Regions from separate parts of the Homo sapiens genome. Here all the other regions are linked to region 3. Evidence: promoter capture Hi-C in human tissues and cell types (Jung and others, 2019). All regions are on one chromosome and are shown on one strand. The core of a region is centred on a gene start or on the middle of the fragment in contact, and the rest is flanking DNA. Distances in the headings are between cores, read along the strand shown.

Region 1 (2,867 bases), core at 253-2,752, 380 kb after region 3:
TTCTACTAAGAAGCAAAATAAACAAAAAAAAAGGGACTAATGCAGCAATCAGAAAGATAGAGTTCCATACTGACTTAAATAGTTGCCCCATCAGAGGAATGAATTGATTATTTTATGTACTGTAAAGTTTAGTATTTTCTACTGATGGTCAAGAAATGCTGGACATGTCAATTATCAAGAACTAAGAGGCTTGGGTGACTTTAGACTTCCTTATTCTGCTACTCTGACTGCATCTGTCACTAGTTTGGGCATGGTCCAGAAAGGAGCCCAGTGTCTAAAGGCCTGCAAACGACTCCCAGAAGATTCAGTAACCTCCCTCAGGCAACTGGCTCTGCTGAGGATGTATTCATTGTGATTTGTAAAAGTTATCTGGCTTCACTGAATAGGTATCCACACAACAGGACAGGTGGTAGCCTAGGGGTGTCAAGTGTTTGCCTATGTTATTTACCAAAAAGCACCTCAAACCATCAACATCTTTATCTCCCCTGTGCCAGAACTGTGAGAGGCTGAAAGGTGAATGAAGCACACTCTCCGGACCCTGGTGGGGAGTACTCATCAGTCAGTGTCCTAATACAAGGCAACCTTCAGCTACAGAGAGGCACACATCGCTATAAGTGGGAGGGAGAAGGGACAGCAGCCCTTACATGGGAGAATACGTGTGCCCTATTTATGCTTGTGTGTGTGTGTGTGTGTGTGTGTGTGTGTGTGTGTGTGTAGGGGAAGTATTAACAACCATCAATGGGAAAAAAGAATGCATTAGAAATCCCTACTAAAAATCTCACCTCCAATTGAACAGCTCCTACTTCAACAGAATTGGGTTTTCTCCCCAAAGATCTGGGGACTCAAAAACTTATAATCCACTCATTCTCCTGTTGCATGACCCCTAAATCTGCTGTTCCAATCAAATCTAGGGTCGCATGAAGGTTTACCTTTTGCCAATTTTAAGAGACTGCAGAGGGAAAAAATACAGACTTTGGGTTGTGTCAGGCCTGGATTCTAGTGTAGACTTCGTCAATGCTGACTGCGTGACCTTCAGTAGCACCTGGGCTTCCGCTGCGTCACTGGTAACATGGGGAGTTCTTCCTTCCACTTAGGATTGTCATGAGGATTAAACAGCACACACCATAAAGCAGACACTAAAATCAGTCATCTTCTTTCTCCTCCCTCTCCCCCAAGGCCATTCATTCTGTTATCCCAAGCCAGGCTTAGAAATATTGGCCAGGACTTTTCAGTTAAAATTAAATAAACATACTCCATTCTCCTTAAGTGAGTAGAACCACTGCTTGGGCTAATATTATTCTTTCTTTTTTCCTCAATAGGTTTTTTCTCCTCTCTCTACCTGAAGTAGGAAAGGCAGGCATGAAAAGGCTATGTTGGCAGTTGGACCTAGATCAGAGCCTAGGCCTACATGTGTTTTGTTGATCAAACATTAACACCAGCCCCTGGTTTGATGAACGGACCAGAACCTCTCCCGCCCCTGCTCTCAACCCCTAGGCACATACAAAACATGTTTACAAAGCCTGCTGACCCTATGGTCTATTTGGACAATGAATTTTGTGTCTCTCTAAGAAAGTTGCATTTGGTTCCTAGTCAATGCATAAAGTAAAAATCGTCTATAATCAAAATTACTCATGAGAATCCCTTAAAATGTTCATAAAGTATCCAACAACACTGTCTCACAAAGAGTCCATGCAGGCACATTTTTCTCCTACTAAGGACTAGGTCGTCACTTCTTTTGACCATCAGATAAAGAAAGTTTCCTTGTGTTTGGGGACCACAAGGCCTGAAAAACATACCTGCATCTTGAAAGACTAAAATCATAAACAGAGGCTAAAAGAAATTTCAGGTAATTCATGCATCTCCCACCTCATATTCTCCTGGGGCATATGGATGGAGAATTGCCCACACTATTCAAGTAGGTAATTATTTTCCTTCTCTCAACTTTGTCTGTGTTTTTTGTTTGTCTTCCTAACTGAACTCAGGTTAAATGTCAGCCTCATTAAATTCTAAATCAAGGTTATTTTGCATTGCATCTTTTCATAAAAATGAAGGATCGACTGATTTTTTAATAAGTGAACAGGGTTACCAAGCCAAGCTGGTAATCTCAGTCCCAAACCTTAATTGAAGACAATGAGAACTGCATAAGCACGCCTCAAATGACGCTCTGGCCAGGAGAGAGGATGTGTAGCCCTGATAAAGAAGAGAGAGAAAGGACAGCAGACTAGATAGAAAATTGCAAAATGGAAGACTTCTGTGTGTGCAGAAAGGAATACTTCATATTTTTTCTTCCCAGAATTTTATGGCAGATGGAGAACTTAGAAATCTGTTTTTATCCTCTATTCATAATGAGCAGGATAGTCCTAAGACACCCTGAATTACATTCACCACAAGCAACTACTATGTGCTGGGCTCTTTGCTCCAGGGTGCTGGGGAAACAAGGATGAATCAGTCACTCTCTAGTCCTTAAGGCTCTCAAAATCTAGTAGAGGAAAGCAGGAGAGGAAATAATAAATGCACTAAATGCTATGGATATAACAAGACATACTTGGATGGAATGCAAAGGATGAATTGTTGGAAGAGGTTGCCATGGGGTTTTATAGGGGAGGTGATTACACAGGGTATGTGTTTCGCTGACCCATAGAGAAGTGAGGTGAGCGTCTCAGGGAGAGACAGCCTATGCAAACAACCAAGTATAATTTAACCAAACATACAGAATTTTCACTATCTTAAAAATTATTTAAATAAGTAAACAATATTTCCTCTGTATGCCAGTTAGCAGCTATGAACAAGAGCTGGAGAAAGCAAACTCCTATGTAATCAATAACTAAAGCACTATAACATGAATCATATTTCCTCTGCCTCACCTC
Region 2 (2,802 bases), core at 151-2,650, 430 kb before region 3:
AAACATCACGTTGTACATAATAAACACATACAATTTTATCTATCAATTTCATTAAAAAGGCATTAAGATAAAGATGATCACTAGAACTTTCTAAATAGCCAAAGAAATTGTAAAGGTAAAACAGCAAAAAAAATATAGTAAAGGAAAAACTCAGCAATTATAACATAAAATGCATAATTATGACAAATAATATGTAGTTGTGAGACTAGACAATCACACTTACTAATAAACGTGAATGGACTTGACCCATATATTAATAGGAAAAGACTTCCAATTTGACTCACAAAACAAGAACCAACTATACGGACACACAAGAGACGTCTCTAAAATAAGTGACTCAAAGGATAAAAATAAAGAGATAGACAAAGGCATACCAGGCAAATGGAATCTGTCAGGGAGGCAGGTGTAGCAATTCTGACATTAGACAAAGAAAAATTCAATTTTATAAGCATTAAAGGTATAAAAATGACACTTCTTTATGTTAGAATGAACCATAATTCACTTCTTAATGCTAGAATGAACCATAATTCACAATAAAGTTATATTTATGAATATCTATGCACTAAATAACAGAATTCCCTCACTGAAGCAAAAACTACAACAATGCAAGAAGACATAAGTGGAAATACACTCATTATAACTTTAGCTCAGTATTCTCCACATAAGACAGATTAAGTTGACAAAAAATAAATAAGATAAAAGACCTAAACAACATAATAAATGGGGTAGATTTTAAGGCTATACAAAACTTTAAACTCTGTTAATGGAGAGTGCACCTACTGAAGTGTAAATGGAAGTCACAAAAATTGACTTTGAGATCATGTTACACATACAAAAAGTCAGTAACATGAACTAGAAATATTACATATTCTCTTATCACAAAGCCAAGAACTAAAAATTATTAGCAACAAATAAAGGTTCAACTGGGAATTTAAAAGCCTTACATTAAATGATTTTTGCAGAATGGGCAAAAGGGAAATACAAAAGGTTGGTGCAAAAATAATCACAGTTTTGGATTATGAATTTTAAATCATTATAACTAGGCACAAACACATATTTATTAATCAAAACAGGAACCATTACAATCAACACATTTTTGCCAACGAGAAATAAATTTGTTTATACCTATAACATAAAAATTCATGTTTCAGGATTCGATGAACTCTTGGAAAGGAATTTCTGCATCCTGCTGGTTGTGGAAGTGTTTTCCCTGCAAAAAGTTGTCAAGGTGCTTGAAAAAGGGTAGTCGGTTGGTGAGAGGTAAAGTGAATAGTGGATGAGGCAAAACTTCGAAGTGTTGGTTATGCGATAAATGGTTGGGCATTGTTGTGGAGAATTGAGCCCTTTCTGTTGACCAATGCTGGCTGCCCGTGTTTGGTGCATCTCATCGATTTGCTGAGCATACTTCTCAGATGTAATGGTTTTGCCAGCATTCAGAAAGCTGTAGTGAATCAGACCCGCAGCAGACCACCAACAGGGCCCATGACCTTTTTTTCGGTGCAAGTTTGGCTTTGGGAAGTGCTTTGGAACTTCTTTTCAGCCCATCCACTGAACTGGTCGTCACCAATTGTGATATAAAATCCATTTTTCATTGCATGTCACGATTTGATTGAAAAATGGTTCATTGTTGTGATGTAGAATGAGAAGAGTACACTTCAAAAATGAGGGTTTTTAAAAATTTTTCGCTCAGCTCATGAGGTACCCACTTACTGAGCTTTTTCACCTTTCCAATTTGCTGCAAATGCTGAGCAACCACAGAATGGTCGACGTTGAGTTCTTCAGCAACCTCTTGTGTATTGGTAAGAGGATAAGCTTCGATAATTGCTCTCAATTGGTTTTTGTCAACTTTTGATGGTTAGCCACTATGCTCCTCATCTTCAAGCCTCTTGTCTTTTTTGCAAAACGTCTTGAACCACCACTGCACTGTAGGTTTGTTAGCAGTTCCTGGGCCAAATGCATTGTTGACGTTGCGAGTTGTTTCGGCTGCTTAAACATTTTGAACTCAATTAAGAAAATCGATCAAATTTGTTTTTTGTCTGACATCATTTCCATAGTCTAAAATACATATAAAATAAACAGCAAGTAGTAAGTCATTAGCAAAAAACATAAAGTGAGAAATGTGCGTTAAAATGATGTCTAACATAATCAAATTTAAGAATGTATTCCAGTATCAAACAGCAAATTTCAACAATGCAAAAATCGCAATTACTTTTGTACCACCTAATACATTTGCAAAAAGCCTTTACAAGTAAAGTCACATTCACAGGCGCTGAAGTTTAGGACTTGAACGTATCTTTTTTTATGGACCTGGGGACAGGGTGGGAGGGACACGATTCTACCTACGCAGAAATACAGGTTACAAAAATTACCTATGAGACATACAAAGCTTAAACAGATTAATTTCCATGAAGAAATAGAAAAAGTGATAAAGACAGAACCAATAAACAATTGCCAGAAAGTTCTACCAGATTTTCATAGACCAGCCTCTATATGTTTTCCATTGCCTAAACCTGATACCTAAATCTAGTAAAGAAAGTATGAAATTAAAGATACTAATATTATTTATCAATATTGATGCAAAGTTTCTAAATAAAATATTAATAAACAGAATCAAACACATTAAGAAAACAATATGCTACAATCAAGTAGATTTTTTTCCAAGGATGCAAGATTGATTCAATATTAAGAAATTTATTCAAATAACACTTGTAATAATAAGCCTTGATTATATTCATAGATAATGAAAAAAGTCTTAGATAAAAACAAATATTTGTCTGATGAAAACACTCAAGAAAATAAGAA
Region 3 (3,114 bases), core at 361-2,860:
GGACTACAGGCATGTGCCACCATGCCTGGCTAATTTTTGTAGATACAGAGTTTCACTATGTTGCCCAGGCTGGTCCTGAACTCCAGGGCACAATCAATACACCCACCTCAGCCTCCCAAAGTGCTGGGATTACAGTTGTGAGCCATTGTGGCCAGCCTACTGCCATGATGTCTACTGCCATGATTTCATGGCAGGTGCAGCTGGTCCAGCATGGATGGGTTGCTCTTGCCTTCATGATAGAGTGATCTACCGATAAAAAGGTATGAGGAAGCTTTGGCTATCTCTCTCGGTATTTTTTTGAGACAGATTGAGCTCTAATCCAATGTGATTGCTGTACTTATAAAAAGGGGAAAATTGGGCACAGAGACACCCACATAGGAAGAACATCATATTAGGCCGGGTGTGGTGGCTCACGCCTGTAATCCCAGCACTTTGGGAGGCCAAGGCGGGCGGATCACAAGGTCAGGAGATCGAGACCACGGTGAAACCCTGTCTCTACGAAAAATACAAAAAATTAGCTGGGCGCGGTGGCGGGTGCCTGTAGTCCCAGCTACTCGGGAGGCTGAGGCAGGAGAATGATGCGAACCCGGGAGGCAGAGCTTGCAGTGAGCTGAGATTACGCCACTGCACTCCAGCCTGGGCGACAGAGTGAGACTCCCTCTCAAAAAAAAAATAAAATAAAAAAATAAAAAGGAAGAACATCATGTCAAGATAAAGGCAGAGATTAGGCAATGTTTTTGCAAGCCAAAGAATACCAGAGATTGCTAGCAAACCATCAGAAGCAAGGTGAGAGGCATGGAACAGATACTCTCACACAGCTCCAAGAAGAAACCAACCCTGCTCACACCTTGACTTTGGACTTCTAACCTCCAGAACTCTGAGACAATAATGTTTGTTGTTTAAGACATCCAGTTTGTGGGATTTCGTTATGGCAGCCCTAGCAAAACTAACATATACTACCCAGTGAAGATTTGCTCTCCATCTTCCACGGCTCCCCCACATCAAATGACTAGATCTTGTCTGGTTAATGTCCAAAATGTCTTGTAGGTTCAGGCTCTACTCTGTTTCCATTGCCTCTGTAGACATATTGGGTAATTGGGTAATCAGTAAGCACCGTGATAGGAGAAGATAGAAAGGGACTTAGTTGACCAAATGCAGCAAGGCTAGGTCAAAGCTGGTGTAAGAGGGAGAGGGTCTGGGATTCAAAAGCAATGTGGAAATGTTGAGGCTGGCAAGCAGAGAGTGAGGGGATGCCTAACTTACCACTTGGTTGGAGAATGCTGAGACGGCAGAGGCTGCACCAAATGTCCAAGGGGTAGGGCTGGCCCGAGGCCAAGATTCCCCTGGGCTCTGTCCCATGGCTGACTTTAGGGCTGAATTTTCACCTGGGGTGTGTGTTGGGGTCTGAGTGGAGATCTTGGGGAGATCTTTGCTACTGGGTTTCTTTAGGGTGTGGCCGCGGGGCACACATCCAGAGGCACCGACCTTGTGAAGCTCCCGAGGGTGTTCTTTGAACTACTGCAAACCCAACCGGCAGGTTTGCTGAAAAGTGGCCACGTTCCAGTCCAAAATGTGTGAGCAGAGCGCGAGCTTAGCACTCCCCAGCCCCAGTCCCAGCTCTGCCAGGAAAGGGGAGACTTCACCGTGGCACTGGGAATTGGATTCTAAACTTTAGGATCAAGCAATGGAAGGACCTGGAATAAGACACCTTCTTGACCCCCCTGAAGGGCTCTGAGCAGCTGGGCTTGCCTTTCTCTTTGCTCCCCCAGTCCTCCCCTTACTTCTCGGTCTCCCACTCCCCATCACTCCTTTCCCTGCCTCCTCCTGCCTGTCTCCATCTTCCTCCCTCTCTTTCTTCTCTCGCCCCATTAATCCCCGCTTGTCACTATCACCTCCTTCCTCCAGTCTTTCCCCCTTCGCTGCCCCTTCTTTCCTCTGACATTTCCTTCTCCTCTTACTGCCACTGTCTCCCACCTTTCTCCTCCCCCACATTTCTCCCTATCCCTACCTCCTCTTCCCCTTCATCTTTCTCCTTCCCCCTTATTTTTCTATCTCCTTCCTCAGTCCCACTCCTCTTTCCACCCTCCTTTTGCCCGTCACTTCTCCTTCTCCCTCACTGCCCCCTCCCTCTCTCTCCCCTCCCCAGGTCCTGCCCCACCCAGCTGTGTTTGCTTTTCTCCCGGATCCGGATGGAGGGGTTGCCCTGCCCGTGCCCAGCCCTGCCCCACTTCTGGCAGCTTAGGTCTCACTTAATGGCTGAGGGCTCCAGGACTCAGGCCCCTGGGAAAGGGCCCCCACTCAGCATCCAGTTCCTGCGAGCCCAGTATGAAGGCTTGAAGAGGCAGCAGAGGACCCAGGCCCACCTCCTGGTGCTTCCAAAAGGTAGGAATGGACAGGTGCTGGGGAAGGAGAGACTTACCATGGGAGACCTGAGTGGCAGAGCTGCAGGGAGGCAGAGCCAGGGCTTTGCCAGCCCTCCCTCCCAGTGGGGAAGAGCAGGGGAGGCGGGCTCAGGGCAGCTCTGCTCAGCTGTCCCACCTGCTAAGGGAGCCAGGGGCCTCAGCCAAGCACCTGGCTGCCAGCACTGTTCCTGGCCTCTGCTCTGATGTTCTAATCTTGCTAGACTGGTCAGCCTGGTGAGCCAGGCTTGGCCCCCCTGCTAGCCCAGGTATGGCGATAGGAGCTCTGCTTCCTGGCTGGGTCTAACTAAGGCACCTCCTACAAACCAGAGAAATTCACTCTGGAGGTAGAAGACATGGCGTTCCCAACAGCCTGGGAACTGTCTGGGCCAGAGGACGCCTAGGGCTCAGAGACCCATGAGGCATCCCAGGCTCATCCAGCCTCAAACATCAGGCAGGGAGGTGTGATTGGACACAGAAACCCCCTCATGGGGAGAAACCTCCTCCCTTTAGGAACTCAGATTTCATTCCAGGAGGGAGTTAGAGGCACAGGGCTCAGAAAGCAAGGGCATGTCAAATCCCAGCCCTTCCTCCTCTAACAGAGGAACAGGTTGAGGGAGAAGGGAAGATACCCTGAAAGGTCAAAGCTGGGCTCTGTGGGATTCTGTGGTTATTTGTAGAGTTCAGTAGACTCTTTGGGCTGCCCTTTGCCAGG

What was found. Contacts are between HindIII fragments. The study calls those that stand out against the background at their distance.
Region 1: a contact is called between a fragment that was not itself captured here and the fragment with the promoter of C9orf152 in region 3, in 1 of the 25 tissues and cell types used here (aorta).
Region 2: a fragment that was not itself captured here is called in contact with the fragment with the promoter of C9orf152 in region 3 in 3 of the 25 tissues and cell types used here (dorsolateral prefrontal cortex, lymphoblastoid cells and spleen).

What each region holds. Positions count from the first base shown.
Region 1 is chr9:109,828,991-109,831,857 of GRCh38, reverse strand. The region is part of intron 1 of PALM2AKAP2 (PALM2 and AKAP2 fusion); the gene reads right to left. Among named protein-coding and RNA genes, the nearest start is that of PALM2AKAP2, 50 kb to the right of the region's middle. RefSeq lists an enhancer at 1,310-1,479. The HindIII fragment of the contact is 7,612 bases long and covers 1-2,867 here.
Region 2 is chr9:110,631,953-110,634,754 of GRCh38, reverse strand. No RefSeq gene overlaps it. Among named protein-coding and RNA genes, the nearest start is that of MUSK, 35 kb to the left of the region's middle. The HindIII fragment of the contact is 6,286 bases long and covers 1-2,802 here.
Region 3 is chr9:110,206,655-110,209,768 of GRCh38, reverse strand. C9orf152 (chromosome 9 open reading frame 152) reads left to right here and starts at 1,610. Exons shown (of 2, transcript NM_001012993.3): 1 at 1,610-2,382. The coding sequence starts at 2,190. RefSeq lists enhancers at 1,940-2,440, 2,441-2,941. The HindIII fragment of the contact is 9,571 bases long and covers 1-3,114 here.